Linked DNA regions of Homo sapiens: all the other regions are linked to region 1. The links are contacts of gene promoters, found by promoter capture Hi-C in blood cells and fetal thymus (Javierre and others, 2016). All regions are on one chromosome and are shown on one strand. The core of a region is centred on a gene start or on the middle of the fragment in contact, and the rest is flanking DNA. Distances in the headings are between cores, read along the strand shown.

Region 1 (3,680 bases), core at 493-2,992:
ATAATGTCGCCTTTAATGGAAACAACAAATACAGTAACTTCATTTAAAAGTAAACAATAGTGACAAATTCACCCTGTAAATCAAATTGCTGGTATTTATAAACACAGGTGGCAAGTTACTAGGTACGAAGGGTTCGTGGTCCAGGGGAAAATATGCCAGCAGAGTGCAGAGACAATGTCTAGGTACCGGCCCTAATTTAATATTTGGTGTATGTAAAGATCTTCGTGAGTGCTGGGCTGGCAACAGCAGGGGTTTGATGGGATGAAAAAGTAAGGTTAGCTGGATTTCAGGTTCAGGAAGAAACCAGGATGAGGACATTAGAAGATGAACTCAGCAAGTATGTAGGAATAGGCATAGGAGATGAACTCAGCAAGAATGAAGGGATATCCGAATCTTGGGAAAGGGTGGGAAAATAACCTAGAGAACTATGGATTGAAGGAAATTGAAGAGGAAAAATAGCAAGGACTTAGGCCCAGGACGGCTTTGAATGCGGCTCAGCACAAATTCGTAAACTTCTTAAAACATGATGAGATTTTTTAAAAGTTTCATCAGCTACCATTAGCGTTAGAATATTTTATATGTGGTCCAAGACAATTTTTCTCCTTCCAATGTAGCCCAGGGAAGCCAAAAGATTGGACACCCTTGGCTTAGATGGTGGAGTCAAGGGAACTAAAGATATGACCCCAGTGTGCCAATGCCAAAGGTGAGAAGAGAAAGCAAAGAAAGCAGGCCTTTAAAGAGGTAGAGGAATCCTCAAAGGTGGAAAGAAACAGGGATAGGATGCTGCCCAAGAGGCAGGGACAAAGAATCGGAGCCAAAGACTGCGGTAAAAATGTGGGAAGGTGATGTCCACGATGTTCGAACGAGTCCGTGGCCGAAGGAAGTAAGAGTCTGGGTTTCTGGAGGTTTTCATACAGAGAACTGGGATTTAGATTTCGGGCTGGAAAAATATATTTTGGACTCTCAGGGGCTTTCAGGGTAAGAGTTCGGTAGAGTTCAGTCAGCTTGGCGGAGACAGGTAGTCAGTTAATGTTGGAAGGAAAATTCGGACAGCTGGGAATTAATTTCAACGGGTTTAGGGTGATTTCGGCAAGGGCTGGCGGGGCTAGGGTCGAGTGTGAATTTCGTCTTGGGTGGTCCACGCGTCTGGTTTGGGCAGGAATTTCTGTGGGCAGCGAGGCGTATTCAGGCAGCGTTGCGGGTGAATCTGCGTGGGATGAGGGTGGATTTCCTTCAGGACTGCGGTGCATTTCAGGCCGGGGTGGAGGTGCCTCACAGCCGCGGCGCAGGGAATTCCCTCTAGGATGGGGGAGCGGGTCGGGCGGCGCCGGCCAGGGAGGGGAAGTCCAACGGGGGTTCGGAGAGGCTCGGGGGACTCGGACGGAGAGAAGCCGGGTCGCGGCTGCGGAGGCTCGGCCGGCCAAGGGATTTCCGCGACGTTCAGCGCTGCGAGCTGCGCGGCGCTGCGGCCCCTCCCGTCCCGGGGGAACCTGTTGCCGGCGAAACAGGCGGGCGGTGGCGACGATGGAGAAGCCTTCCTCGCCTCTGCCTGGCTGCACGGCAGCCCTTTCACCTTAGGCACGCTCCGCGGCGCGGCCCCTCCCTCCGCTCCTTCGTTTAAAACAAACAGAATACGCCGCCGCCAACCCTAGCCTGCCAACGGCGAGCACGGTCGCCTCCCGTGCCGCTTCCGGGAGCCGAGGCGCGGCCCCGCCGCCCGGGGAGGAGGAGGCGGAGGGGGAGGAGGCCAACATGGCGGCGCGCAGGGCTGGGCCGGGCCGCAGCCGCGCCTGAGCGCCTCACCGCACTAGCTCGGCTCGCAGGACCCAAGCCCGCACCCAGCCTGGCCCGGCTGCTGCGGAGCACCCGGGGCAGGAACGCAGGGGCCAACCTGGGCGCGGAGGCGGCGCGGAGGGTGCGCCGCGCGGCCCGCCAGGCCCGGGACCCGTAGCTTCGCCGTGCGCTGGCCGGGGCGGCCAGGAGGCCCAAGCCATGGAATCGGAGGAGGAGCAGCACATGACCACGCTGCTGTGCATGGGCTTCTCAGACCCCGCCACCATCCGCAAGGCCCTGCGCCTGGCCAAGAACGACATTAACGAGGCCGTGGCACTGCTCACCAACGAGCGGCCGGGCCTCGACTACGGCGGCTACGAGCCCATGGACAGCGGCGGTGGCCCCAGCCCCGGGCCCGGCGGGGGCCCGCGGGGCGACGGCGGAGGTGACGGCGGCGGCGGCGGCCCCTCCCGCGGCGGGAGCACCGGAGGCGGGGGCGGCTTCGACCCCCCGCCCGCCTACCACGAGGTGGTGGACGCGGAGGTGAGGAGGGGCAACCCCAGACCTCTGTGGGAAGCCACTGGGCTGGAGTTCCTGGGAGGGGACACACCCCGCTGGGCTTGGTGTGGGGAGAGAGGGCATTCGACTGGGGCTTTAGTGGGGGCGGGGCGGAGAGAGAGAGAGAAGCCCCAGGCTCCAGTTGGGAACCGAAGTCACTTGATTGGGGGTAAGTGGGGAGAGGGACCCATAGGAGAGGCGTGTGAAAGGGAATTAGGGATGCGCAGCGGAGCTGTGGGTTGGGGTGAGGAGGGGTCCCTTAGGCTTCCGGCTATGCACGCCGACGATGGGGAGGAGGCTCCAGGGCTATCATCCGAGATGGGAGGACAGACACTTGAGCATATAGTGGGAAGGATGCGTGCAGTAGGGGGTCGGAAATGGGGTACTAGTGCACTAGGCTAGGTCGGAGATTTTGTGGCACGAGGTTTCAGTGAAGGATTGGCGGAGGCACCAGGCTCAGAGTCAGAAAAAGCGGTGTGGGCCGGCCAGAGTAGTGGTCTTTGACAGGATCACAGGAAAACTGTTGGGGTTAGGAGTGAGGTTGGGGTTTTAGCCAAGGGTCGGAAAGGGGGGGCATTGAGTAGGATTTAAAATGAAGAGGGAAGGGGCCGCGGCCAGGAATGAGGACTTGAATAAAATCAGGTATGAGAGCAGTGGGGATTGCACTGAGAGGGCAGAGGTGGGAGGCCTGGGCAGGGGTGGGAGCTGAGGAGGGTCTAGGCAGGGATGGGGACTGGAATTGGAAGATAGAGCTGGCACCAGGTCTGGGTAAAGAGGGAGTACTGGTCATCGATAAGGTCAGAAATGAGAGAAAATTAGACCGGGGAAAGAGATGGTAGTCATACTGAGGGTGCTATGCAGAGGGGCGCGGAACAGGGTGGGAGCGCAGTGGGGGTGGAGGAGGAGTCTTGAGGCTAATGGCTTTGATCAGAGACCTCAAGTCTAGGTGGAGAAGACTATGCCTGTTTAGTTTGGGGTGTGAGCAAGGAACGTGGGGGAAGAAAACGGACTCTTCTATAATAAAGAAAAAAGATCGACCAGAAGCAGCAGTGCTTTTGAATAATTACTTTGCAGAAACATAGTAGCTCATGGCAGGAATTTTGGTCAGATTCGTTGGGTAGTTCATTTCAGGGGCCAGTAGAGCAGCTTGGCCTGACCACAGAAAAGCACAGATCTCAAATTATTGGGATTGCGTTATTAGGTAGAGATACGAATTTGGTTCGTTCTTAATGAAGAATTAAGCTTAGTGAAGCTAAGCCTTTTGAAACACTTTTTCCTGAGCAGTGTTATATCCTTTTAATTGTATGCTTTTGCAACAGTTCCTCGGGCTGAAGTAGCTTGAACAAGAA
Region 2 (3,582 bases), core at 302-2,801, 1.2 Mb before region 1:
GGCCTATGCTATATCAGGTTTATAAACCTGGGAGATGCTTACGTCCTTTTCATGATACAGAATGGGAAACTGAGGTCAAGTGTCATGGTTGGGAAGAGACCCAGACTGTGGGACTCATCACTAAAGAGTCAGCGTGAAGGAGTAGGAAATGTAAACCAGCCTGGGCTATAGCCTGGTTTTGCTATTTATTACCTGAGTGATCCTGGGCAAAAACTCCAATACCCTGGACCTCAGTTTTCTTACCTGTGAAATAAGCGTAATGATACCTTCCTCCCAGGAGTAGCAGAAAGCATAGAAAAGATAATGGAAAGAGAAGCCCCTAGCATATACTTGGCATAAAATAAGTTCCCCTTTCCTCCTGCCTCTCCTTCCTTCCTGAAATAAAGAGGGGCTTTGGAATCAGACTGGCCTGGGTTCAAATCCTGTGTGAACTTGAGAAAAGAATTAACTTTTATGGGTCTTGGTTTTCTCATTTGTGAAATGGCAACAAGAACAACCACGTTGAGGGTCTTTGAGGAATCAGAGATGACATAAGAGCCCTCCTAGACAACGCTGCTCTCCTTCCTTCCACTATCCTCCGGGATTCCTTCTGCAGCCTCACAGGCTAGGGTTCCCTACTCTGAGTAAGGGAACAGGGAAATGTGTCTGCAAGTCTCTAGCCTCTCTGGGCAGGTACAGTGTACCCAGCTCAGGGCTCATCAGCAGAGCTGGTGGTGCTGGGGACAGAACACTCCCTTCCAGCCCTCAGGCCACTTCAGGACACAGATCCCTCAGGGGGTGTCAAACCCAAAAGGATCACTGCAACAGTTTCCAGAGGGGTTGTTGGAGACTTGGACACATAAATAACCCCTATGAGACAGCCCCTTGGCATGCCTTCCTTGTGGGGAGTAAACATTACGTTATTCAGAGAGACACTTAGGTTTCAAACCACTTCATATTTAATCAGCAATCATGCTCCCTTCCAAAAGCCATGCCAGGAAAAACATCAGTTTAGTTTTTGACAAGAAACAAGGCATTCTGAAAACTTGTGCACATAGCCCGAGCCTCAAGGGACAAACTCATGGCTCTGTTTGGAGTCAGAGGTGGTGTTTCGACCTGGGACACTGTGGCCAAAATGATGCACTTCCGTCTGGTGTTTGCAGTCGTCCTGAGGAGCAGTGGTGGATTGCTGGAGAACAGAAGGAGGAACCAAGGCTGCAGGCAGAAGAGACTTGCACTGGAATCCCACCTGTGCCTTTCATTAGAGCTGTGCCCTTCAGCAAGATGTTTAACCCCTTGGAGTTTCATGGTCTTTACTGTAAACTAGGAATAACTATGTCTGCTTGGAAGGTTGGGATGAGATCTAGCCAATGCATTCGGTTGAGCCATATGAAATTGCCATTTTTAAAGGTCAAAAATGATAGACTATTGGCAATTGGCAATTTCGTATGCTTCCAGCTACTAGATAAGGTGCCTGGCATATGTGAACAGTCTCTTAACTGTGCTAAGCATTTTACATAATCTAAAACTTTAGTAGGCTTAAGAAATGGGGGCTGAGGCCGGGTGTGGTGGCTCACGCCTGTAATCCCAGCACTTTGGGAGGCCGAGGCAGGTGGATCACCTGAGGTCAGGAGTTTGAGACAAGCCTGGCCAACATGGCAAAACCCTGTCTCTACTAAAAATACAAAAATTAGCCAGGCGTGGTGGCAGGTGCCTGTAATCCCAGCCACTCAGGAGGCTGAGGCAGGAGAACTGCTTGAACCTGGGAGGCGGAGGTGGCAGTGAGCAGAGATTGCGCCACTGCACTCCAGCTTGGGTAACAAGAGTGAGACTCTGTCTCAAAAAAAAAAAAAAAAAAAAAAAAAAAAAAAAGAAGTGGGGGTAGTGAGGTATGGGTAAAAAATCTGATTTAGAAGATCTTTGGGGGAGCCTAAAATCTGCATTTTAACAAACTTGTTATTACTCCTCCAGGTGATTTTTTTTTTTTTTTTGAGACAGGGTCTCGCTCTATCACCCAGGCTGAAGCACAGTAGTGTAGTCATAGCTCACTGCAGCCTCCAACTGCACTCCAGGTGATTTTGATGAGGTGATGCTTAGTGCTCAGTTGATCAAGGCTTTGAATGAATAAAGACCTGAAAAGAAGGGAATAGATAGAATAGTAAATTGCAAATCCCTCTCGCAACTCACTGTCTAGGTCTGTTTGTTTGTTTTCTTTTTTTGGTTCAGATGAGTGTAGCAAGATTAGCGTGTGTGTGTGTGTGTGCGCGTGTGTGTGTGTGTGTGTGTGACTGAGAGAGAAAGGGAGAGAGTTCACGCATGCACTCACAAGAGGGCACTTGGAAGTCCCTCTGATGGCATTTAAGCCACCTAACTCTAATATCTGGGACTTCTCTTCCCCTTTGAATTACCTTAGTCTTTGGATCATTCTGAGGTAGAGGTTGGTCAATATGTGTTATACCCTCAGTAGCTGTCTTCAATATTCTAATATTTAGAACAGTTTCAACTATTTCAAAATGTCCTTAAAAGTTGGAGGAAGAGGTATTAGCCAAGAGGTATTAGCCAATAGGGAAATGTAAATATCAGATCTGGAAGCAAGTTGTGAGCCTGATCCAAGCTCTGCACATCTCAGGTGAGGAAGACATGAGCCAGGAAGGTGATGGCACCTCCCAAGGTTATGCAATGTGAGTTGGGGCAGAGGTGGAGGTGGAACTCAGGTGGAGCTTTGCTCTCGTGGGAGCCTGTAACTAACCTTACCTTAGTCTCCTTATCGCTGTATGGACTTCACAAATCCTGGCCAGCGGGGTCTGAGTTTCCCCAATGTGTACCTACCTGACTTCTTTCAAATGCTCCTTCCTGTTGCAATTTATACTGTACACATATCTTCCAGGTAAAACAGTCCTATTAATTCTTCTATTTATTCAATAAGTATAAATCAAGTACACTGAGGATGCAGTGGTGAGCAAATCAGGCATTATTCTTACCCTCATGAATTCTACGGGCTTCATCTTCCCAATAGGTATAATTATGAGTGCTCTAAGGTAAATGCAATGGAACTTATGTATAATGGCGAGACCTGCTCTAGTTGAGGCTTTGTAGAGGTTGCCTGTTCTTTACCTTATGATGGGTACCTGGTGATGAGTCCAGCCTCCAAAATATTTTTGCAAAGTTTTTTGAATCCATAGTAATCCCAGGCGCCATGCTGGTCTTTATAGCTTAGCTGTAGATATAGAAGAAAGGAGAATGAAGCCAGAAAGAGTGCCGATACTTAAGCCAAGCTGATGTTGGCAAAAGCTTTGTACCTCACATGGTTAGGAGGGAGTCCTACTTCCTGTGGGTAGGTGGTCTTGGGGTCCCCACCAACCTCAGAGGTGCTACCTGTGTTGCTTGGTCTTCAGCTCTGTCCCCACACCTGCAAAACAGGGACAATAAGACTCTTTCCCTCAGAGGGGTTATTGTGAGAATTAATTGAAAAAACATGAAGAAGTGCCTAACTCTGTGTCTTATCTTATAGTGCCTGAAGAATATTAACTCGTTTCCCACAAGAAATTTGCTCCACACAAATTAGACACTATGTGGCATGGGCCAGGCTTGAGCTAGATGTGT
Region 3 (3,418 bases), core at 519-3,018, 1.4 Mb after region 1:
GGAGTTCAACTTTATTCTTTTTTTTTTTTTTTTTTGTTAGACAGAGTCTTGCTCTGTTGCCCGGGCTGGAATGATGCCTGGCTAATTTTTAAAAAATTTTTTATAGAGACAGGGTTTTACCATGTTGGCCAGGCTGGTCTCAAACTCCTGGCCTCAAGTGATCCGCCCACCCTGGCCTCCCAAAGTGCTGGGATACAGATGTGAGCCACCACGCCCGGCCTCAGCTTTTTGGTGGACTGCCTCCTAACTGCATTGTCTCTGGTTTGGTTCGTGTCCCAACTCCTCCATCTTCCTTAAAGCCAGCTTTCAGTAAACAGACATGTTTTACCTTGAGCAACATGAATTTGATTGTCACTTTCATGCTTAAAACCCCTCTATATCTTCTTGTATTATTCAGCAGTAAATATTTTCCTCCTATATGATAGATACGGGCAATTCAAACATGAATAGAATGCTACAGTGCCGTAGTTGCCCAGTAAAGGTTCATATCTGATGATTATAAATACAGTTACAGTATACAGGTGGTTCCCATAAAATGTGTACAGCCTTTATATATTAATATAGCTATCAATTAAGCCTAGAGAGACAAGTATTAGTTGCTCTAAAACAGCTGTAAATCAATGCCCACCACCCCTCATACAAAGTATGATATTTGATGTTGCACCTAACTTTGTACTAATGCAGGCATCAGCTCACTGATACTATAAATTCTTTAGTGGTACGTAATGTTATTACTAGTAGTGAATGTTTGAGTTACGGATTATGATCTGAGTTAGTGGTTAACATCCTGTATGAAAAGATAGGATTTGCATAACTGAAATAATTTAACTGACTTCATGAGTGAGGGTTTTTCTTTTTGTTTATAGGTTTTGGGCTGGAGGATAGTTGCAAGTATTGTTTGGTCAGTGCTATTTCTACCCATCTGCACCACAGTATTTATAATTTTCAGCAGGATTGATTTGTTTCATCCTATACAGTGGCTGTCTGGTAGGTGATACTCAACTTGGGGAGAAAGTTATAGGACCTACTTCTCAACATAAAAATTGCATTATGTTTCAAGCAGTTTATTTTCAATTACTGCCTATGTTATATTGACACATCAAAACATTCACTTTGAGATAATTTTAAGATGTCTCCTTCGTAACATAAATCACCTTTTTATTATGTAATAAGATTAATAAGCTTGTCAAAGACTGTGATCATAGGAACGAAAAGATCATTAGAAGACCCCATAAATGAAAACTTAGTTTCATTTGTTTTTCCTTTGGGCAGCTTTATTGAGATTGTTTGTCTCTTTAAAATACAGAATGGTTCCTGTCATCGATTCGAAATTGTGGGTAGAAAATATGACATGTACCTCTTTTAAAAATACGTCTAAAATTAAGAGCACTTGATTTCTTTTTTTGAAACAGAGTCTTGCTCTGTCACCCAGGCTGAGTGCAGTGGCTCAGTCTTGGCTCACTGCAACCTCTGCTTCCCATCTTCAAGCAATTCTTGTGCCTCAGCACGCGCCACCACGCCCGGCTGATTTTTGTATTTTTAGTAGATACGGGGTTTTGCCACGTTACCCAGGCTGGTCTTGAGCTCCTGACTTCAAGCAATCCACCTGCCTCAGCCTCCCGAAGTGCTGGGATTACAGGTGTGAGCCACCGCACCTGGCCTAAAATGTTCCTTAAATTCCTTAGAGACTAAGTAAAATTACTAAATGTATTAAAATTAACTTGTTTTCTGTTAATAACTACCCATTATTGCCTGTTTACCGTGTGCCAGCTCCTTACATATATTACTTCTTATCCTTCCTGTAACTCTGTGTAGTTAAGAGGTACTTTCTACTTTATAAATGGGATAACTGAGATTCAGGTTAAATAATCCATGCAGAGACACCCAGCTAGTGAGTAACTGATTTAGGATTGAAAATTGGTCTTTCTTTTGCCTTGTAAAGTGGGAAGTTGAGTTTTTAATTTCGTTTTTCACAAGAAAATGCCAGTTTTCAAGGAGTTGGACTCTTTACCCATGACCTTTGGAGATATTGGTGTTAAGTTTCTTGTTGACGTACGTCCATCACTTTTTCGATAGGTCCCACTGGTCAGGTGAAATTAAGCCATAAGCCAGCACAGGCATAGCAAATATTTCTATAGCCACCTTACCTGTGTCTGCTTCACTCACTGATCATGGCTCTCTGGTGGCAACCTTAGAGTACTCAATCTTGTATTTGAGAGCCATTACCAATTGTTCACAATTGGCACTGGGGACAAAAACTTTTTGCCATTTCATGGCCAGAGGTTTTTTAATCCTCATCACACTTTCTCTGCAGGTTGGATTTGATTTATGCCATTTTCCTCATCAGAAGCTTGGGTTTAATTGTAGATGCTTAGTAAATATTCCTCATTAATTTAGGTCAATGGGCCGAGTGTGGTGGCTCACCCCTGTAATCCCAGCACTTTGGGAGGCTGAGGCGGGCGGATTGCCTGAGCTCAGGAGTTTATGACCAGCCTGGGTGTGGTGGCATGCACCTGTAGTCCCAGCTACTCGGGAGGCTGAGGCAGGAGAATTGCTTAAAGGGGGAGTGGGGGGTGGAGGCTGCAGTGAGCTGAGATCACGCCACTTCACTCCAGCCTGGGTGACAGAGTGAGACTCCATCTCAAAAAAAAAAAAAATTTAGGTCAATGAATTGTACTTTTAAAAATAAGTGGTTAATTTTTAAGTCTTAGCAAACATGCTCTTATTTTTATTTCATTCATATTTTTAGGCATTATATATATATATTTTAAACTTTGAGATGGAATATCGATTGTTGAACTACTCTAAAATGTGAATGTATTAGTATTTCATGGGGGCATCCTGATTTTTTTGTTTTTGAGTTCCGCTCGTTTAGATGATGTAATGTATGGCTTATTCTATTTCCAAAAATGTTACTTTAGCTATATGAGGTAATTGCATTTATGAAGAAGAGATCTGAAAAGTATTCTTTATATTTTAAGAAAAAACTTTGTTGGTATATTACTAAAGATGATACTTCTCTTTCACATGATTAAATATTTGCATATGCGTGGCTGGGTGTGATGGCTCATACCTGTAATCCCAGCATTTTGGGAGGCCGAGGTGGGTGAATTACTTGAGGTCAGGAGTTTGAGACCAGCCTTGACAACATAGTGAGAACCCAAAAAATAGCCATGGCGGGCATCTGTAATCCCAGCTACTGGAAGGCTGAGGCAGGAGAATTGCTTGAACCCAGGAGGCGGATTGCAGTGAGCCAAGATTGAGCCACTACACTCCAGCCTGGGCAACAGAGCAATACTCTGTCTTGAAAGAAAGAAAGACAGAGAAAAGAAAGAAAGAAAGTTTTGCCATGTTCTAGTGTTTTGTCTGATGTTAACTGGGTCATTTAAGAAATTGTAGTATAATTTTAAAGTACCTG
Region 4 (3,402 bases), core at 732-3,231, 1.3 Mb before region 1:
AGAGAGAGACAGAGAGATGCCCTTTTGAAGGTCATCTTCACAGAGGTAACAATTGAAGCTATTGAAGCAGCTGAGATCACAGCAGAAAGCCAGGAACACAATCCTAGGGAAGACCCACATTTATTGGGTAGAAGTCAGATGTGGAACCACTAGAAGAAGCAGACATACATTTAGAAATAGTAACAAAAGCATGGTGGTGTGATATTAAGGAAGCCTAGGAAATTCAAGGTAAAAAAAAAAAAAAAGAGTAAGAGGTTGCAGTAGGCAATGCTGCAGAAAGAACAGCCAGGAGATTCTTGCATGGACTGGCAGAGTTGGGCATTCAGGAGGCCCATGACTCTGAGTCCCTGACTTTTGGGAAAACAATGATGCTTTATGCCTCAGACTCTCTTCTTCATGAGACTTGTGGGCACAGGGCAGCCACTGCTAATTTCAACCATAAATAACTTCTGTAGCCCCTCTCTGGCCTCTTTGCTGTCTTTATTCTAGATATTGGAGTTCTGACTTACCCATAAAGCCCAGAAATTATACTGGTGTCTTTGGACAGATCTATGTCTTCATTACCTTTCCCAGACAGTGAGGCACTGATCTTCTGAAAAAGGCTGAAGATGATAACCAAGTGACAGAAGAATCAGAGAATAAATTTCCAATCAACTATTTCTAGTTACTAAAGACGCTGCACTTTATTGCAGTAGATGGAGCAGTCAGTGCCAGAGAAAATACAGCCATACATCTGTCTCCATCCTTAGAAACAGGACCCAGTACATTATATTTTTCCTTTCCTTTGGGACTGAGAACTAAAGTGAGAAATGTGATTCTCCCTTCACGATTCTCCATCATCAACAGTTTGTTGAATTAATCTTTTCTGGGCAAAAGAAGTTCATCAATTCATGTAACCGAGATGTAAAAGAACAACTTGACCCTCTGTGGCTAGCAGGAACTTAGAGGTGCAGGTGCCTTTCAAGATGGCAGGCCCTTACTGGGTGTTCTGTGAACATATGTCTCTCTGGAGACATACATACTACTGCCTAGTAGGACTTCTAAGAGAAAGCCAGCTCGATGCCATTGGGAACAGCACAGGAATTAGAAGGAGGAAGCCCCAGCTTCAGTGATGGTCTTCTTGCTGTCTCATTTTTATCAGAGTGATTCACTGCCCTCTCTGGCCTTCATCATACTCATTTATATAAGTGTTGGTAATAATTTAGTAATTCATATGGTGTTGTGAGAAGCAAACAGTATAGTGGATGTGAAAGTGCTTTGAAAGCTGTAAAGTACTAAGCCAATATTATTAAAGCAGATCAGAGTATAGGAAAGTTTGTCCTTCAGACTCAGCGGTGGAAGATGAGTTCTCAGTCTCTGAAAGAGATTGTTAGGCTGCTGTGCAAAAATATTACTTTTCTTGGGATAATTTACAAATAGAGTGGAATGTTAAAAATAACACAAAACAGTAGAGTAGGGTTGTCCCTTCTGCTTTGGGTTTAGACTTTGCTTCTGTCTTGATCTGCTGAAAAATACATACTAGATAAAATGATCAAAAGCAATGTCATCCATACATACATTTTCTGGTCCTACCCTGGAGGGGTGGTATTTCCAAACTCTTCATTTAGGTATGGTATCGTCCAAGGAGCTCTTGGAAGAGATACTCTCTACAAAACATGTTTTTTATTTGTTTGTTTGCTTTCCTCTTCAATGGAGGGAAGAAAAAAGTTAACTTTTGGAGGGCTCTCCTGCTAGGTGCCAGGCGATTGACATATCACCTTATCTAATTCCCTGGCAATCCTGCCACATAGATATTATTAACCTTATTTTATAGATGAGGACATCTAAGCCCAGAGAGGTAAAGTCACATGCCTAAGGTAATAGACAAGATTCAGACAGGTTTTTCTGGCTACAACGTTGTTGCTTCTTTCACCACCTCTTGCTCTATCTTTTCCCAAAAATCTATCCTAATTTTTCTTCATATTTCCTCTCCATAACAGTTAAATATTTGTAAATATGTGGGCAGTTGAGCTCTTTTTCACCAGAAAAGACAGGAAGAGGAGCTGTCTTGCAGTTGGAGCCAACCTCTCTCCAAACTGCAGCCCTTCTCAGGCAAGGACTGATCCCTTTCTGTCCCCTTGTAGCTTAATTGCAATGCTTTCCCATTTTATTAGTTTCCAGATTCTGTGCCAAGTGCTTTAAAAGGCAGGTAGGGGAGAATTCTCTGCTTGCCTGGCAGCCTGCCATCACCCCCAGAATCTGTTGCTTGCTGTTTCAGAAAGGGATCAACATTGAAGGCATTTTTCTCAGCAGTGAAATTTACATATCAGAACCTTGCTGACTGAGGCAGAAATGAGGGCTCTAGGGGCAGGAGTCTGGGAGTGGGGACAGAGTCTTTGTAGGAGGAGGGGGAGGGAAGAGCTTATTTTCTTACCCAGGAATAAAAACATTGTGAGTAATGAATAAAGTCCGAAAGCAGTAAATCTGGGACTCGAGAGTTAGGTGTGTAACGTGTCGGAGAACAATTTAAGCCTTCGCCTCGTCTGTAGAGGTGAGGTATTCAGGCTGCCTTTCACAACCCAAATTTCATTAAATAGACTTTTAAGGGTTAGGATTACAAGAAGCCAAGTCCGCCTGGTTCATAATGATGATTTATGGCTGTGTTGTCGACTCCCTGACCCTTCTGTACAAGGGGATAGAGAAAATACATAATTTGTTGCTCATTCACTCTAAAATCTGTCAAGGCTGCCCCAGAAGCCATGTGGTCCTGGAGTCATGTGTCTGCTAAATGGCTTCAGCCTGGCCCTCTCCTTAAAAATCTGCAATTGCTCTTCTGCAGTGGAAATTGGTTTTAATAACAATAGAAATGATAAAATTATCTCAGTGTAGTCTGCTGTGGGTCTTTGAGCTTAAGAGTCAGAATACCTGGGCTCTACTCTTAACTCTGTCACTTACTGGCCTCAAATCCTTCAGAAAAGTCACTGTCTCCCAGAGCCTTAGTATCTCCATCTGTAGAATGGAATATCTTCTTCACAGAGAAGATTCAATGAAACTACAGTACAAAATAAATGTAAGAGATGGCTGCTGTTAACATTATTATTAGGAATTTGAGGTACTGCAAAATGTTCTTTTCATCTCCTTGTTTTCCCTTGAGTGAAGGAAACATTTTACTTTGCAATTTACTATCTTAAGACTGTGACACTAAAAATGGAAGTTTTAGAGATGGGACATTAGAGCTGAAAAGAATCCCTGAATTGTAATCAAACCCCGTCTCCCTAAAGTAACTGGAGCAGAAAGGTGACTCATCTGAGATTAATCAGTAAATTCATAAAAGAGATGCTAATTTGCATTGGAAACTCACATGTTCTTTCTCAGCATCAAACAGGAAATCGTGTTGACTGATCCTCAGGCCACACCTGCTTA
Region 5 (3,805 bases), core at 339-2,838, 1.3 Mb before region 1:
TTAATCAGACAAGAGCTACAGTACTTTGTGTGTTTCCCTCTCTGATTGTCTCATCAGTAGACTCTGACGTGGCTATTTTCCCCTTTCTCTACTTGACATCTGAACTCTTTAAAATAGTTATATAAATTGCATGCCTACTGTAGGTTCTTCCCCCTTGTCTTCAGCTACAATTTTTCTGTGAGCTTGTGGAGGACAGGGAGTGTAAATCTATCTATCCGTGTAGCTTAGCTCAGGATCTGGCTGAAAAGAGGTGCTTGGTAATCTGTGCTGACTACGTATGTACACGTGTTACTGCAGATAAATTGGTGAGGGGAGGACATATCTGGAGAAGTTATCCATTCCCACCTTCACATTTTATAGATGAGGAAACTGAAGCCACCTGGAGATTAACTTCCTTTGAGCAAGGATCCTCTGTTAAACTTCTTTGTATTCATTACAGTACTTGTTAAGAACAGAGGAAGAAAGAAAGCATGGAAGCAAGGGAAAAGAAAAGAAGGAATAGAAAGAGAGAGGAAGGAAGAAAGGAAAAAGGTGGGAAACTAACAATTATTAAGCACTAAAAGTAACAGTTTTAATTAAATGCTTTTTCATTTCCTCTTGATAACACACGTGTGAAATAAATGTTATTATCGCATCTTTTGAAGGATGAAAATTGAGGTTCAGGAGGTGAAGTCACTTGTCCAAGTTCACACAGTGCATAGGAAGCAGAATGAGAAACTGGAACAAGTTCTGGGAAGTGGAAGCAAGCTCTTCTTGAATCATGAGTCAGTCACTGGCACGGTCAAGTGTGATGATTAATGAACTGAATAGAAAGCTAAATAATCCTTTTTTAAAAAAAAAGTTTTATTTTATAGATTCAGGGGTACATGTGCAGGTTTGTTATATGGATATATTGTGTAGTGGTAGGGTTTGGACTTTTAGGGTGCCTGTCACCCAAACAGTGAACATTGTACCCAACAGGTAATTTTTCAACCCTCTCTTCCTCTGACGCTTCCCCCTTTTGGAGCCCTTAGTTCTGTTATTACTCTCTAGATGTTCATGTGTACTGATTCTTTAGCTCCCACTTGTAAGTGAGAACATGCAGTATTTGGTTTTCTGTTTCTGAGTTATTTCTTTTAAGATAATTGCCTCTAGCTCCATCCATGTTGCTGCAAAAGACATGATTTCATTCTTTTTAATTGGTGGTGTAGTATTCCATGGCGTATATGTACCATATACATCTATTTTTGAGACAGAGCCTTGCTCTGTCACCCAGGGTAGAGTGCAGTGGTGTGAACTCAGCTAGCTCACTGCAGCCCTCCACCACCTGAGTTCAAGTGATTCTCCTGCCTCAGCCTCCCGACTAGCTGGGATTACAGGTGTGCACTACCAGGCCTGGTTAATTTTTGTATTTTTAGTAGAGATGGGATTTCACCATGTTGGCCAGGCTGGTCTCAAACTCCTGGCCTCAAGTGATCCACCCACATCAACCTCTCAAAGTGCTGGGATTATAGGTGTGAGCCACCGCACCCAGCCATATTTTCTTTATCAGTTCAGCTGCTGATGGACACTTAGGTTGATTCCATGACTTTGCTGTTGAGAATAGTGCTGCAATAGACATACAAATACAGGTACAAGTACTGGGTAGATACCCAGTAGTGGGGTTGTTGGGTCAAATGATAATTTTATTTTTAGTTCTTTGAGAAATCTCCATACTGTTTTTCCTAGATGTTGTACTAGTTTACTAATTTCTTCCCCACCAACAGTGTATAAACATTCCCTTTTTTCCACATCCACACCAACATCTGTTGTTTTTTGACTTTTTAATCATAGCCATTCTGACTGGTGTAAGGAATACATTTTCACAACAATAATCGCCAAGTTATATGACCTCAAGAAAGGTAGTCGCTGTCTCTGAGCCTCAGTTTCCTCTTCTGTAGTGAAAAATGGACTCTGAGTGCCGAGGTCTCTCTCAGCTCTCGGGTGCTGGGATTCAGTCTAACTCTCCCTGAATTCCTCAGCCATCATGTGAGCCATTTAAAAATGATAGATTCTTCCAGGAGGAGCGATGTCTCTTTAACTAGAATCGTCAAGGTCAGGCCAAGCAAACTTATTTGGGGTTTTTGATGGGATCGCTCTTAATTGATTGGGGTGAAGAGTTCAGAGCTAAGTTGGAGGATTGGCTTTTCAGCTCGGTGCTGGCAGAGACTGGGGCTTGACATGATTTGAGGTTGTCTAATGACAGCAATGCTCTTAAACAGCTGACGGGAGAGGCTTTCGTCCAGAACTCAGCAACGCTTTCCACTCCTTGGAGAATAAGAAGGGAGCTGCTGAACAATGAATAAATATGCTGTCTTGGTCACCAGTGAAGCCATGTCAAATTTCTGGGGCTTTCCTATCTTTTACTCAACTTACTGCCTGAAGGATTTTCGGTGTTCCTTGTGTGGATACGTGTGCATTGTTCCTTTGTTTGCTTTTCTTTCTTTCTTTTTTTTTTTTTTTGAGATGGAGTCTCTCTCTGTCGCCCAGGCTGGAGTGCAGTGGCGCGATCTCAGCTCACTGCAAGCTCCACCCCCTGGGTTCATGCCATTCTCCTGCCTCACCCTCCTGAGTAGCTGGGACAACAGGCGCCCGCCACCACGCCCGGCTAATTTTTTGTATTTTTAGTAGAGACGGGGTTTCACCATGTTAGCCAAGGTGGCCTCGATCTCCTGACCTCGTGATCTGCCTGCCTCAGCCTCCGATCTTTTTTTTTTAAAGATTTTTAAAAAAAATTCTAGGTCTGAAAACATTTCGGATCATATGAAATTTGATTTACTTTGCTCTCCAGAGTCTATGAGTGGTTTTTATCTCTTCTGATATTTGTATTTTCTTTCTCCTTATTACTCATTTAACTAAAATTTATTAATAATAGTAAGAGTTAAAATTGGGAGAACTTAACCTATCAATGGATACCAGGCACCATTGTTTCAGATATGAGGAGGTACTATATTGTTTCAATCAATAAACATTCATTGAACACCCAACAATTTCTAGACATTATTCTAGACAAGAGGCGTTCAGCAATGACGAAGGCAAAGTCTCTTTCTTCATGGGGTTTAGACTGTGGTGGGGAACACAGACAATAAGCAAGTAAACAAATATTTGGTATATTTTCAGGTTACCTAAATACATCTTCAGTGCAAAACAACCTTAACACGGCAGGTATTATAAATTCATTTTTACATATGCAGAAATACCAATGTGCAGATAATGAACTCACCTGCCCAAAGGGAGATGAGAGATTGGATTTAAATCCAGTCTTTCTAGTACATATTGAGGCTGTTGAAGCTTTTTATTGTGACACATCTTTACTGAGCCCAGAGACAGATAAAGTATGAAGCTCCGAGGCTTGAACTCCAGGGCGCTTCACTTGCATGGGACCTTTCTAAATTCACCTTATACCTAATTTTTAATCTTTTTCCCAATGAGGGCCTACCGCATTTTGTAAGCCTGGGGTAGGGAGGATGGGTCTCACAAAATCTAGATGGACCCTCACTGAGCTACAGATTCAAAGGCGTTCCAGGTTCCCTCAGAAGCCAGTGGAAGAGACAGATGTGAAAACAAATAATCTTTTTTCTTTCTTTTTTTTTTTTTTTGTGAGATGGAGTCTTGCTTTGTCACCCAGGCTGGAGTGCAATGGCACGATCTCGGCTCACTGCAGCCTCCACTTCCCAGGTTCAAGTGATTCTTGTGCCTCAGCTTCCCAAGCAGCTGGGATTACAGGTGCCCACCACTGTGCCTGGCTAATTTTTGTATTTTTAGTAGAGACGTGGTTTCGTCATGC
Region 6 (3,896 bases), core at 1,356-3,855, 1.4 Mb before region 1:
AAATCATGTTGGCATCTGTTCGGGAATTGCAATGAGTAAGTACGTTAAAATTTCAGAATAATTATTTCTCTGTTGGCCAAACAGGAAATGGATAAATATAACCAATGTTCACAATTTGGAAAATTGAACAAATTCTTCTGTTTACCCCTTTTCCCATTCATACCATACATAGCTAAGTTATGTTGCCATCCTTATTCATACTTTCATTTATACTTTTTCTACTTTTTGACTGTTTAAATCTTTGTTGCAGTATAACATACGTGCAATCGGTACAAAAGCTTTATGTTCACATATTAATCTCACACTGTTTTTACATATCTGTTTAACCATGTAATCATCATTCAAATCAAACATTCAGAAGGCTTCTTCCCACTTAACAATCCCTTCCCCAAAGGTGACCACATAGTATGCACTCCTGTGTAAATTTCTTTTTTTTTTTTTGACATATGTCTGAAAGATGCATCCAAGCCCTTTTGTGTAGCAGTGGTTTACTTTTTTCAGTACTGCATAGTATTTCACTGCGTATCACTGTATGATATATATTTATTCTAATTTCTGTTGTTTCCATTTGTGAGTTATCATGAATAAAGCTGCTATGAACCTTATTGTACAAGTCTTTTGGTAGACAAATGTCATCATTTTTGATGGCCGTATCCCTAGAAGTGGAATTACTGGGCCATCGAATAGACATAGGTTTGGTTTTAGTAGATTTTACCCAAGAGTTTTCCAAAGTAGCTATACCAATTATCTCTCCAGTTGGTCCATATCTTCACCATTTGATATTGTCAAGCTTCCAAACGTTAGCCATTCTGATGGGTATATATTGGTGTGGAGTGGTATTTCATTGTGGTTTTAATTTGCATTTCCCTAATGACTAATGATGTTGAGCACTTTGTCATATGTGTATCGGTCACTTGTATATCCTCTTTTGTTAACTGCCTATTCAAGAATTTTGCCCCCCCCTTTTTTTTAAAAAAAAAAAAAGACCACATCTTTGCTTGTCTGTCTTTTTCTTATCGGTTTGTAGGAGTTCTTTTACATACTCTGAATATACATCCTTTTAGTGAATATCCTTTTTGGCCATGTATTGTTCCAATCTGCGGCTTACCTTTTCATTTTCTTAATTTTATGTTTTAGGGGTCAAACTTTTTTTGTAAAGAGCCAAATAATAAATATTTTAGGTTTTGCAGGTCATGTGGTCTCTTTTGCAACTAGTCAGCTATGCCATTTAGTGCAAAAGCAGCTACACACAATACGTTTACTGAATAAGCAAAAACTTTATCATTCTTCTTTTGATTGTTTTTCGGCCATGTAAAAATTTAATAATTATTCTTAGCTCACATATTGTACAAAAACACTTGACAGGCTGGATTAAGTTTATAGTCTGATATGGTTGGGCTATGTCCCCACCTAAATCTTATTTTGAATTGTAATTCCCATAACCCCCATGTGTCATGGGAGGTACCAGGTGGAGATAACTGAATCGTGGAAGCGGTTTCCTCCATCCTGTTCTCGTGATAGTGAGTTAGTTCTCACAAGATCTGATAGTTTTATAAGGAGCTTCACCACCCCCTCCACTTGCTCTGCACTTCTCCTTGCTGCCACCATGTGAAGAAGGACGTGTTTGCTTCCCCTTAAGCCATGATTAGAAGTTTCCTGAGGCCTCCCCAGCCCTGTGGAACTGTGAGTCAATTAAACCTCTTTCCTTTATAAATTACTCAGTCTTGGGTATATCCTTATAGCAGCGGGAGAACAGACTAATACACAGTCCATAGTTTGGCAGCTCTGGTGTATTTTATAAATACAAATTATGAATTTTAATGAATTTCAGTTTATCCGTTTCTTCTTTTGTCATCAATGCTTTTTTATTACTATTTAAGAAATGTTTGCCTATCCCAAAATCATGAATATATTATCCTTCATCTTATTCTAGAAGTTTCATTTTATTATTCATGTTTATGTCTATGATCCATCTGGGATTAGGTGTTATGAATGATGTAAAATACAGGTTTCACACATGTGCTTCTATGTACTTAAGTTATTATACATCTTTTTCAATTTTATTATGCAACTATGACTTATCTGTTCGTTGAAGCTTTCCCTGATACCCTTACCTTGTGCTTGTAACTTTCCTCTAGTCATTCTTTCAACAACTACTTTTTGAAGCCTTATTATTATGTACCATGTTAGGAACATGGTATGGTTTGTGTCTGAAGATATGTGTATTTACTTGCTCATTTAATCATTCATCAAATTTCATGATTTCATCAAATTTCATGAAGAAAATTATAGTTTTTTGAAGAAAACAATTTAAACTTTACAATGAAATATGATAATATTGCAAGTATTGGTTCACATGTTTTTCTTTTTTTTTTTGAGACAGAGTCTTGCACTATCCCTGGGCTGGAGTGCAGTGGCGTGATCTCGGCTCACTGCAACCTCTGCCTCCTGGGTTCAAGTGATTCTCCTGCCTCAGCCTCCCAAGTAGCTGGGATTACAGGCGCCTGCCACCACACCCAACTAATTTTTTGTATTTTTAGTAGAGACAGGGTTTCACCATGTTGGCCATGCTGGTCTCAAACTCCTGACGTCATGATTCGCCCACCCGCTTTGGCCTCCCAAAGTGCTGGGATTACAGGTGTGAGCCACCACACCTGGCCCTGTTCACATGTTTTTCTAAAAATTAGTCATTTGAAGAAAGAAGCCATAAGCATTAATTTGATTATCTCCAGCACCTAGCATAAATCCTAGCATAGAAAAGGTGATCATGAAATTTGATGAATGATTAAATGAGCAAGTAAATACACATATATATTGAATAAATATACACATATGTATACAGTGAGTGTATATATATACATATATTTGAATTCGGTGAATAAATGCATAAATGTTTATATATATATGTGCACATCATGCACACAAACAACCTTCTGCTCTTTTCTCCCAGATGCACACAATTAAAGTACCACTTCAGAAACCACTAATCTTTCTCCTGTGTGCCTTAGACTAGGCTTCCCCAACCCCCAGGCCACAGATCAGTAGTGGTGCGTGGCCTGTTAGGAACTGGGCTGCATAGCAGGAGGTGAGCCACCAGCCAGCGAACAAAGCTTCATCTGTATTTACAGCTGCTCCCCATAGCTCGCATTACTGCCTGAGCTCTGCCTCCTGTCAGATCATCGATGGCATCAGATCCTCATAAGAGCACAAACCCTACTGTGAACTGCGCTTGCAAGGAGGAGAATCTAATGCCTGATGATCTGTCACTGTCTCCCATCACTCCCAAATGGGACCATCTAGTCACAGGAAAACAAACTCAGGGGTCCCACTGATTCTACATTATGGTGAGCTGTATAATTATTTCATTATATATTACAATGTAATAATAATAGAAATAAAGTGCACAATAAATGTAATGTGCTTGAATTATCCTGAAACCATCCCCCCACTCCCCTCCCCGGTCCACGGAAAAATTACCTTCCAAAAAACCAGTCCCTGATGCCAAAAAGGTTGGGGGCTGCTGCCTTACACAGACAAAGTTTATTCATTACAGATTAATTATTAACATCTTAGCCTTTTCACAAGATGGCGCTGAAGATGAAGAAGGAAGCTCCTGCCCCCACCGAAGCTGATGCCAAAACAAAGGCTTTGGCCACAAAAAAAAAAAGATCCATATGGCACCCTCTTTCTGGTGGCCCAAGGCACTGTGGTTGTGGAAGCAGCCCAAATATCCTTGGATGAGCACCCCCAGGAGAAACAAGCTTACTCACTCTGCCTCATCAGTTCCACTGACCACTGAGTCTGCTATGAAGAAGATAGAAAACAACATGACAATCGAGATGGATTGATGGATAACAGAATGATAGATATGTGATAAAACAAGTAGAATAAAGTAT
Region 7 (3,448 bases), core at 362-2,861, 1.4 Mb before region 1:
GTCAGAATTTCGAGACTAGCCTGGTCAACATGGTGAAACCCCGTCTCTACTAAAAATACAAAAATTAGCCGGGCATCGTGGTGTGTGCCTGTAATCCCAGCTACTCCGGAGGCTGAGGCAGGAGAATTGCTGGAACCCAGTTGGCAGAGGCTGCAGTGAGCCAAGATCACGCCACTGCACTCCAGGCTGGGTGATAGAGCGAGACTCTGTCTCAAAAAAAAAAAAAAAAAAAAAAAACCAGAAATGATTGGAAATGATCGAAACGCTGGTCATCTAGGGGACCCTCTGTATTTGCTGAGGAAGGAAGGTACTGAGCTAGGCTACCATATTTATTATACAGGCCAATCATGTGGTATAGAGACGATCCCTTTTATAGAAGAGGGAACTGTAGCTCAGAGATGTTAAGTAACTTGCACAAGGGCACCCAGCTAGAAAGCAGTCACCAACTTTTCCAGAGCTCTTGTCAGGTTACCTTGCTGCCCCACTTTTCAATTTGCAATTAATTGATTGCAATTAATGCAATCAAAGCAGTCTTTTTCATTTCTTTCCATTTTGTTTATTTTGGTCTTAAGGATATTATTGGGCAGTGGAGTAGACAGAGTAATATGTAAATAATTGCAAAACAGCTTAAAGCTTGATGAATAAGCTTCTCTGTAGACATAATAAAGAGAATACCATTGGAGCAATTCCTCATTGCCTAGATTCATGGAATCTTTAGAATTTGGAAGTACCTTGGAGATTTCATTATCAACGATACCAAGGTCATTTTTTAATGTCAGTTAGAAAAATAGGCCTTTTTGAGCTGGGGAAGGGAGAGAGGTGTGAGGGGAATAGCACGGGCTTTGGAGTCAGACTGGAGTCTGCTCACTATTATTGGCCATAGAAGCTTAAGCAAGTTTACTTGATCTCTGTGATGCCTCATAAATCCTCATTTACGAAATGAGATTCTGTGTGCACTGTGACGTGGTGGGGACATGCCTAGTACAGTGCCTGGTGCATAGAGACACTCAAGAGGTAGTTGCTGCAGTCATTATCATCACCACATCCTAGTCAATGCCCTTGGTTCACAAATGGGAACTAGAGGTCTTGGTTGGTTAGTAATTGTCCAGTGACAGTGAAAGAGGAGGACCTAGAACCAAGGTCTTGCCTTTCTACCATTCTGCTTTTCGGATGTGGACTTGTTGGTTTGAAATTTGATATTATTCATGAGGAGAGTTCCCTGGAGAGCTTTCTCTCTTGCGTGCGTCAGTAGAAAAAGGAACAAGACAAACAGGTTTAACTTTTAATCCATATCAGTGGATGTTAGCTGAGTGAAGCCAAAGATACATGGGACAAATGTGAAGGACTAGGCAGTGTTTTGAAATATTACTTTTCTTCAAACTGGTATTTTTTCAGGAAAGTACTTATTACCAAGATCACTGCTGAATGATTTGAGCTGGAACAGGTGCCACCTTTTTCAAATGATGTATCTCAGGGGAGAAAAAAGAGACTCCATGTTTTCAAAGTTTTTGCTTTTTATTATTTATTTATTTATTTTTGCTTTTTAAAAGCCTCTCAACAAACTCTCCTTATTCCCATGTGACTGAGGATGAAACAGTCTCAGATTAAACAGACTTCTCAAGGTCACGCATTGTCAGTGCCAACATTCAAAAGAAGGCTAGGTCAGGTTCTTGAACATCCTTGTGAAATTATTCTTCCCTTAAGTCTGGGTTAAATTATAAATTATGATCTGCATTTAAATTCCCAAATTTAAAACAAACCAAACAAAACAACGCACTTCAGACTCTTTTGGAAACCTTTGAAAGGAACTTGATTTCTGTGTGATTTGAAAGTATATATTGCAATCAAGGTATTGGTGGTAAGTGTGTTTTTGAGGTTTGTCACAAATTAACAAAATTATATGCCTAAAGAGTTTTGCAGAGAAATGCAAATCATTATAAGCGCCTTGTCATAATAAGTAGTGTGCTTTGGTTCCTGTTTATGTATCCCTAAAACACATAATACACTATTACATTGACACGAAGGAAACCATTCTCATTGATGGTTTCTTTATATCTGGCCCCCAAATTAGTTTGTGGTATCAATCAGTATAATTTCTAGAGAGCCTATTAAGCCTATGTTTGTACCTGTCTTTCAGGTATAAGCCTTGTCTTCTGCAGATGATTCTTGAGCACCTACTATATGCCAGGCCCCAGGGTTTCCATGGCCTTAAGGAATTCCCAGGCTGGTGAAAGTGGAACAGGCTTTTGCCTAATGACAAACACTATATAAGTGATGACTTTGGAGCCTTAAGGGAGGGCCTACTCTAGCAGCACAGTGAAGAGTGATGAAGCTTGCCTGAGGGTGTGGAGCTGGGTCTTGCAAGATAAATAATAGCTCACAAGCCAGGAAGGGGGAGAAGGTATTGCAGCAGAGTGAAGCACAGGTGCTGAGACTTGGAAGCAGGGACCTATTTGGGAAGAGTGAGTAGCTGGAGGCTGGAATGTCAATATTGTGTGTTTGCACTGTGCGGGGGAAGAAAGGAGGACATTGGAGATGAGGCTGGAGAGATAGGTTAGAGCTAGATTATGAAAGGGGACTGGGTATGGCAGGCAGCTAAGGAATTTGAGTTTTATTTTGGTGAACGAGGAGAGCAAATGAAGTTTTCTTTTTGTTTTTCTTTTTATTTTTATCTTGGAAGATTTCATAGAGAAACCTACTACCTAGGAGTGAAATTGCTGGGTCCTATGGTAACTCCACATTTACCTTTTTGAGGAACTGCCAAACTGTTTTTCATAGTGGCTGCACCATTTTAGAAATATCTAAAGGCGGCTGGGTGCAGTGGCTCACACCTGTAATCCCAGCACTTTGGGAGGATGAGGCAGGCAGATCACGAGGTCAGGAGTTTGAGACCAGCCTGGCCAACATAGTGAAACCCCGTCTCTAACAAAAATACAAAAAATTAGCCAGGTGTGGTGGCAGGCGCCTGTAATCCCAGCTAATCAGGAGGCTGAGGCAGGAGAATCACTTGAACCTGGGAGGCAGAGGTTGCAGTGAGCTGAGAGAGCCATTGCACTCCAGCCCGGGTGACAGTGTGAGACTACATCTCAAAAAAACAAAAACAAAAAACTAAAGGCTAGTTACAGTATGTAAGAAAAATACAATAGTTTTATAAAAGACCTTTGGAATGAACATATTCATGAAAAGATTGGAGGAGGGAATTAATTTAATCTTATTTGGGTTTGGGAGAGATGACTGGATTTGAGGGTAGGCAAATGGGAGGCAGAGGAGCTAAAGACCAGTGGGGTGGCAAGTGCAAGCTGAACCGAGGGTACTGTGGTGGGAGCAGAGAGGGCTGGATAAGAAAGACATGACAGGGCCGGGCGCGGTGGCTCACGCCTGTAATCCCAGCACTTGGGGAGGCCGAGTGGGGTGGATCACAAGGTCAGGAGTTCAAGACCAGCCTGGC

The links. The method cuts DNA at HindIII sites, captures the fragments that hold promoters and counts their contacts. A CHiCAGO score of 5 or more calls a contact.
Region 2: a fragment that was not itself captured here is called in contact with the fragment with the promoter of USP24 in region 1 in 1 of 17 cell types (M2 macrophages); the score reaches 5.2 in M2 macrophages.
Region 3: a fragment that was not itself captured here is called in contact with the fragment with the promoter of USP24 in region 1 in 1 of 17 cell types (non-activated CD4 T cells); the score reaches 6.9 in non-activated CD4 T cells.
Region 4: a fragment that was not itself captured here is called in contact with the fragment with the promoter of USP24 in region 1 in 3 of 17 cell types (total B cells, M0 macrophages and monocytes); the score reaches 8.3 in total B cells.
Region 5: a fragment that was not itself captured here is called in contact with the fragment with the promoter of USP24 in region 1 in 4 of 17 cell types (M2 macrophages, M0 macrophages, M1 macrophages and 1 more); the score reaches 9.2 in M2 macrophages.
Region 6: a fragment that was not itself captured here is called in contact with the fragment with the promoter of USP24 in region 1 in 5 of 17 cell types (fetal thymus, total B cells, neutrophils and 2 more); the score reaches 12.6 in fetal thymus.
Region 7: a contact is called between a fragment that was not itself captured here and the fragment with the promoter of USP24 in region 1, in 2 of 17 cell types (total B cells and M1 macrophages). The highest score is 7.2, in total B cells.

The regions. Positions count from the first base shown.
Region 1 is chr1:55,213,426-55,217,105 of GRCh38, reverse strand. USP24 (ubiquitin specific peptidase 24) reads left to right here and starts at 1,742. Exons shown (of 68, transcript NM_015306.3): 1 at 1,742-2,316. The coding sequence starts at 1,993. LOC100507634 (a long non-coding RNA gene) reads right to left here and starts at 1,698. Exons shown (of 1, transcript NR_038320.1): 1 at 1-1,698. RefSeq lists silencers at 1,565-2,074, 2,145-2,334 and an enhancer at 2,795-2,854. The HindIII fragment of the contact is 9,819 bases long and covers 1-3,575 here.
Region 2 is chr1:56,444,149-56,447,730 of GRCh38, reverse strand. The region is part of intron 1 of LOC124904185 (a long non-coding RNA gene); the gene reads left to right. It overlaps LOC124904189 (a long non-coding RNA gene), which reads right to left and starts at 3,360. Exons shown (of 3, transcript XR_007066110.1): 1 at 3,279-3,360; 2 at 3,094-3,196; 3 at 1,996-2,111. The HindIII fragment of the contact is 3,443 bases long and covers 1-3,272 here.
Region 3 is chr1:53,833,069-53,836,486 of GRCh38, reverse strand. It overlaps NDC1 (NDC1 transmembrane nucleoporin), which reads left to right. Exons shown (of 18, transcript NM_018087.5): 2 at 867-987. Among named protein-coding and RNA genes, the nearest start is that of NDC1, 3.5 kb to the left of the region's middle. The HindIII fragment of the contact is 1,168 bases long and covers 1,185-2,352 here.
Region 4 is chr1:56,526,954-56,530,355 of GRCh38, reverse strand. All of the region lies in intron 2 of PLPP3 (phospholipid phosphatase 3), which reads left to right. Among named protein-coding and RNA genes, the nearest start is that of PLPP3, 51 kb to the left of the region's middle. The HindIII fragment of the contact is 6,480 bases long and covers 1-3,402 here.
Region 5 is chr1:56,467,104-56,470,908 of GRCh38, reverse strand. The region is part of intron 1 of LOC124904185 (a long non-coding RNA gene); the gene reads left to right. Among named protein-coding and RNA genes, the nearest start is that of LINC01767, 54 kb to the right of the region's middle. The HindIII fragment of the contact is 3,446 bases long and covers 1-3,311 here.
Region 6 is chr1:56,585,932-56,589,827 of GRCh38, reverse strand. It overlaps the pseudogene RPL23AP85. Among named protein-coding and RNA genes, the nearest start is that of PLPP3, 8.3 kb to the right of the region's middle. The HindIII fragment of the contact is 1,015 bases long and covers 2,098-3,112 here.
Region 7 is chr1:56,568,833-56,572,280 of GRCh38, reverse strand. The region is part of intron 1 of PLPP3 (phospholipid phosphatase 3); the gene reads left to right. Among named protein-coding and RNA genes, the nearest start is that of PLPP3, 9.0 kb to the left of the region's middle. The HindIII fragment of the contact is 1,446 bases long and covers 889-2,334 here.